Linked DNA regions of Homo sapiens: region 2 is linked to region 1. Evidence: promoter capture Hi-C in 16 types of primary human blood cells and fetal thymus (Javierre and others, 2016). All regions are on one chromosome and are shown on one strand. The core of a region is centred on a gene start or on the middle of the fragment in contact, and the rest is flanking DNA. Distances in the headings are between cores, read along the strand shown.

What was found. The method cuts DNA at HindIII sites, captures the fragments that hold promoters and counts their contacts. A CHiCAGO score of 5 or more calls a contact.
Region 2: a fragment that was not itself captured here is called in contact with the fragment with the promoter of ZKSCAN1 in region 1 in 1 of 17 cell types (M1 macrophages); the score reaches 5.2 in M1 macrophages.

What each region holds. Positions count from the first base shown.
Region 1 is chr7:100,014,323-100,017,105 of GRCh38, forward strand. It overlaps ZKSCAN1 (zinc finger with KRAB and SCAN domains 1), which reads left to right and starts at 1,274. Exons shown (of 6, transcript NM_003439.4): 1 at 1,274-1,404. RefSeq lists a silencer at 1,360-1,529. The HindIII fragment of the contact is 19,683 bases long and covers 1-2,783 here.
Region 2 is chr7:99,921,754-99,924,453 of GRCh38, forward strand. GJC3 (gap junction protein gamma 3) reads right to left here. Exons shown (of 2, transcript NM_181538.3): 2 at 1,513-1,850. The coding sequence ends at 1,792. LOC101927610 (a long non-coding RNA gene) reads left to right here. Exons shown (of 2, transcript XR_001745296.3): 2 at 1-2,700. Among named protein-coding and RNA genes, the nearest start is that of TRIM4, 3.6 kb to the left of the region's middle. The HindIII fragment of the contact is 773 bases long and covers 1,063-1,835 here.

The sequences.
Region 1 (2,783 bases), core at 24-2,523:
CTCATTACGTTGCTTAGGCTGGTCTCCAACTCTTGGGCTCAAGAATCCTCCCGTCCCAGCCTCCCGAAGTGCTAAGATTACAGGCTTGAGTCATCGTGTCTGGCCCTGTCATTGCTTTTTAGTTTTCAAACATTTTTTAAAAAGTAAATCTGGCCGGGCACGGTGGCTCACGCCTGTAATTCCAGCACTTTGGGAGGCTGAGGCGGGTGGATCACAAGGTCAGTAGATCGAGACCATCCTGGCCAATATGGTGAAACCCTGTTCTCTACCAAAAATACAAAAATTAACCAGGCATGGTGGTGTGCGCCTGTAGTCCCAGGTACTCAGGAGGCTAAGGCAGGAGAATCGCTTGAACCTGGGAGGTGGAGGTTGCAGTGAGCCAAGATGGTGCCACTGCACTGCAGGCTGGGTGACAGAGCGAGACTCCATCTAAAAAAAAAAAGTAAATCTCTCCAAGCAGTAAGAGTCATGCAACCAAGCTACTGAGTTTCTCCCATGAACTTGTCTCGGAACATAGTGGAAAGTCACAACCATTAAAGCCTGTAGTCCCCCCCACCCTTGCACAACGTGGCCCCCTCTTATGCGTGCCTTACCCTGCAAGGCAAAGATGAAGGCTGTAACTGTGGTAGGTTGTGAAAGCACTTTGAAGGTAAAAGTGTCTGTTGTTACTCTGAAAACTCCTTTTAAACGGCTATAATAGCATATGCCACATGAGCAAAGCACAGAACCTTATAACTATGCTTGCTTGTGGAAAGACATCCCTTGTCCACGGGCCAAGTATTTGAAAATACCACTCCATATAGCTCCAGGGCCCTGAGAGAAGCTACCGTGGCAGCTTTGGGAAACCAGCCACCCTTGGCTTCACTTTGATCTTCCTCAGTCTACATCCTTGTTTCAGTTCCTTTGCCACAGACATACAATTACCAAGTACTATATTGCTTGATAATAACTATAATTACTACAAGGACTGCCTGAGATGAAAAAGACAGGTGAAATCGAACTTTCACATGGACTGGTGTCTGAGCTGGAGAGTCTGTTTGAGTTTGAGTAGGGGAAAGCCTGAAACCCCCCACCACCTGCTCCCGTTAGTCCCTGCATTAACTAGGGGCGGACTGGGACCTGATCCTCCAAGCTGGAGGCTTGAAAACTCAAGGGCAGGCGCCTGGTCCAGCGATTCGGAAACCGAGATGCAAAGTCCTCCCGCGCTCCTAGAGAGGACCCGGAAGCGCGGCGCGGTCCCGGAAGACGAGGTGGTGACACGCTTCCGGCCTTTGTGACTCATTGTGTCTGTGTCGAGGCGTCGGGAGGGCCTAAGTCCGTGTGCGGTGCCCTTCGGCCGGCCTGAGCCCCAGAGTCAGCTCCCCTTTCTCGCCCAGCGCCCCCAGGCCGCTCCCGGGGCTCACGGTGAGACTTGGGGCCGGCCTCTGGGGTGGGAGGGCGGGGCCGCAAGGGTGTGTGCGCGAGGGTGGGCTCCGCAGCTGCGGCCCTGGGACCCCCTCCAGGCGGCCCCGCTGTTGTGCGAAGAGAGTCCATGCCCCTGCCTCCTGGCCGGGCCCGGCCGTAGAAAGCGCCGTTCTTCCTGGGAGACGTCCCCGCCCCACCCCCAGGATCAGGCGGGGAGGGGGCGAGGGTTTCAGTGGCTGAGGGTGCCCGGAGACCCGGGGAGAAGCCGTCTGTGGGCCCCTCTCCCGCAGTGTCGTCATCGCCCTTTGACGTTTCTGCAAACGGGGTCGCGAGCGAACCGACCCCGGTCTTGATTTTTCTGCTCTCCCTTAGTCGCCATTTGCTTTGATTCCGGTGAGGTGTCTTTTTCCCCCCCCGGTTCCTTCGGGACCTCGAGGTGAAATGAGCGGAAGGATGAGAGATGGACACATTTTGAGGTGCCGCATACGTTTCCAGACCTGCCTTTCCTTCTCCCACCCTCATCACTGAGCGGTGATTAAAGAGTATTTGAAGCCTAGTCATAGTGGATAAATAGGTGATTGGGATCTAGTAGAGATTATATACACCCCACTCTTTCAGCTTGATGGAATGCTTTGAAGGCTTTGGAAAAGAGCTGTCCGGGACGTTAGGTGGATTTTTCAATTCTGGATAGTTGCTCTGTTTGACATGGAGTGGGGTGAGAAGTGAAGGGAATTTGTGGAAATTGCACTGTGTCACTAGGAGACTGATTAGCTGAGTGACCTTGGATAAGACGAGACACTCACCAAGTCTTAATTTCGTCATCAATAAAAACTAACTGGATTTTCTCAAAAGGCCCTTCCGACTTCGAAATGATTTGGTCAATGTAATTGAAGAATTAACTACAGTTTAGCTTGACACTCCTCCATCCCTCCCCTCCCTTTCCTGCAGTGCCCCCTGTACACAGTAAGATACTTTCATTATAGAGAGTGGCTGTTCCATGGCCTGGGACCAAAGAAAGCATTTATTGTACGGGCCAGTGCTAGGCGGATTGGAGGCGGTCAATAAATACTTGTTGAATTGAATTGTGGAGAATTCATTGTAACCACATCAGCAAAGCACTGTTAGTATATATGCTGAACAAATGTGGAGAAATCGCTGTTTTACATAGGAAACCATGGTGATTTGCCCCAGAATGTGTATCCAGGTTTGTATCTTCTCTGAATTAACATATAAGATTCTTGTTTATTATTTCAGGCAGTTTTCACCACTCTTAAAATACAAACGAGGAAGCTAGCTACTTAGTCTTTTGCTCATTCTCGATTTAAAAGCATTTAAAATACAGATGAATAGCATATTAAATCTAACATTTTCATTCTGTG
Region 2 (2,700 bases), core at 199-2,698, 92 kb before region 1:
TAACCACAACAACAAACTGTAAACCTAGCCCAATTTCTGACTAGACTGATACCACCGAACCACTGCTATGCACTCAAGAGCACTAAAGGCCTAGCAGAAGGAAAGACACACTCATCTCCAAGCATAAAAACAATCTTTACTTCATACTGTGAAGAGAGAATTGAAAAAATAATTTAAGCAAAAAAAATACAACATGACTAACTTTTAACAGAAAGAAAAAAAGACGCATACAGAAAGGCAAGAAAAAACACAGTCCAAAGAGATAAAACAATCATTAGAACCAGATTCATAAGACATAGACATTAGAAATATGAGAGAATTTTAAATAACTGTGATTAATGTGATGAAGGCCCTAAGGGGAAAGGTGAACAAAATGCAAGCTCAGATGGGTGATTTTAGCAAATAGATGGAAACTATCAGGAAAAATAAAATGGAAACTATAAAAATAAAAAATATAATAATAGAGATGAAGAATGCCCTCCATGGGCCCATTAGGAGACTGAACACAGTTGAGGAAAAAATCAGACTTGAAGGTAGGTAAATAGAAATTGCTGAAACACACACACACACACACACAAAAAGAGTGACAGAAACAGAACACAGCATCCAAGACTGGTGGGAAAATATCAACATCAAATCAAGAAATAGGCGCAGTGGCTCACCCCTGTAATCCCAGCACTTGGGGAGGCCGAGGCAGGCAGATCACGAGGTCAGGAGATCGAGACCATCCTAGCTAACGCAGTGAAACCCCGTCTCTACTAAAAATTCAAAAAAATTAGCCGGGCATGGTAGCAGGCACCTGTCGTCCCAGCTACTCGGGAGGCTGAGGTAAGAGAATTGCGTGAACCCGGGAGGCGGAGCTTGCAGTGAGCTGAGATCACACCACTGCACTCCAGCCTGGGCGACAGAGCAAGACTCTATCTCAAAAAAAAAAAAAAAATCAAGAAATAATGGCTGAGAATTTCCAAAATTTGTAAGACACCAAACCAATCCAAGGAGCTCAGAGAACACAGAGCAGGATAAATTCTTTAAAAAGAAACTAAGCTTATTGTATTCAAACTAAGCTTATTGTATTGATACCTGGTAGTTATAACTTACCAAATACACTGCCCAACATCTCCAGATGATCTATTATTTCTGAAAGTTTCCTTTATTACATTTCTTACTTCAGGGAGATATAGCCTTCGCTTCATGTTATGGTTGGTGCAGTCAGTATTCTCAGAAAGAAAGTACTGGTTCCATTTTACCTCCATCTTTTGTTTCCTGTCAGAAAACCTACCATACCACCAAGTACTCCTTCTCTACACTGCCTCTGATATTTAAGTAATTTGAGAATTCTGTTGAGACTATCTCCCTTTTTTGGTATGATGAATCTGGTCCTAAATTGCATGCCAAAGACTTTGAGAACTAAACTGTAGACCCAGATCTCATGTCCCAGACTGGCCTTTTGTTACCCACACAATGAATGGGTTAAATTGCTTGGCAGGGGACAGTCCAATGACCACAACCAAGGAGGATTTCCCAGGGGGATTTTATTACTTGCGATAAGTAAGGAGGACACTGGGAATAATTCCCCAAAGCAATGCCTCCCTGAGCAATGGTGCAAACATGGCTTTTATTAGTCTGGTTAGCTGAGTCATTGTATGTAGAGGTGGAGTCAAGGCAGCGCAGTCCCAGTTGTCGGTTATGCTGCTACATATGTCACATGTATAGAAAATGGTGAATAAGCTCCTCCTTGGACAGGATTTTAAGTATGGTGATGAGGAAAGTTGGCCAAAGTTCATCTCCAACTCAGGCATCTCTGGGTCCAACTGGTCTTTGTTTTTCCTGGGCTAAGCTTCTTCCTGGAACTTTTTAAAACAAAAATTCAAGATGTAACAGTTACAAGTGTGTAACTTTTTCACAGTGCGTACCCAAAACCCAAGGACCCTGGGTTACACTTTAGGTGCCACCCATGTGGGACCTATCAGAAGAGTACTACAAAGGCTTTGAAAACTGAACTGACATTGGAACCACAACCCTCAGAAGGCTGGTCAAAACTTATGACTTGAACCCAAATGGGTTAATTACCCTTTAAAACATAAATATCAACATCCTCCACCAAATTTAACCAAGACCCAGAGCATCCTAATGACATTCAAAATGTCCAGGATACAATCGATATTAATTGGCAGGTGAAGAACCAGGAAAATCTCAACTCACGTTGGGAAAAAATGTAACAGATGCAGAATGTAAGTTGCCACACATGTTGGAATTATCAAGACTATAAAGCTGCTATTCAAATGGAAAGTTTAAAAGTCTCAGAGAAGTAATAGAAAATACAAAGAATAGCCCCATGGAAATTTTAGAACGGGAAAATACAAAAACCGTCATCACATCATATCCGGGGCACATGCTGTCAACATTGCTCATCACTGTTGATGTTAACCTTGATCACCCGGCTGAGGTAGTATTTGATGGGTTTCTCCCTGTAAAGTTATTCTTTCCCCTCCCCCTATTTTACTGTTTAGTGGGAAGTCACTATGTGCAGCCCATGCCTAAAAAGGGAGTAGTTGGTGGGCACGGTGGCTCACGCCTGTAATCCCAGCACTTTGGGAGGCTGAGTGGGTGGATCACCTGAGGTCAGGAGTTCGAGACCAGCTTGGCCGACATGGTGAAACCCCGTCTCTGCTAAAAATACAAAAATTAGCCAGGCATGGT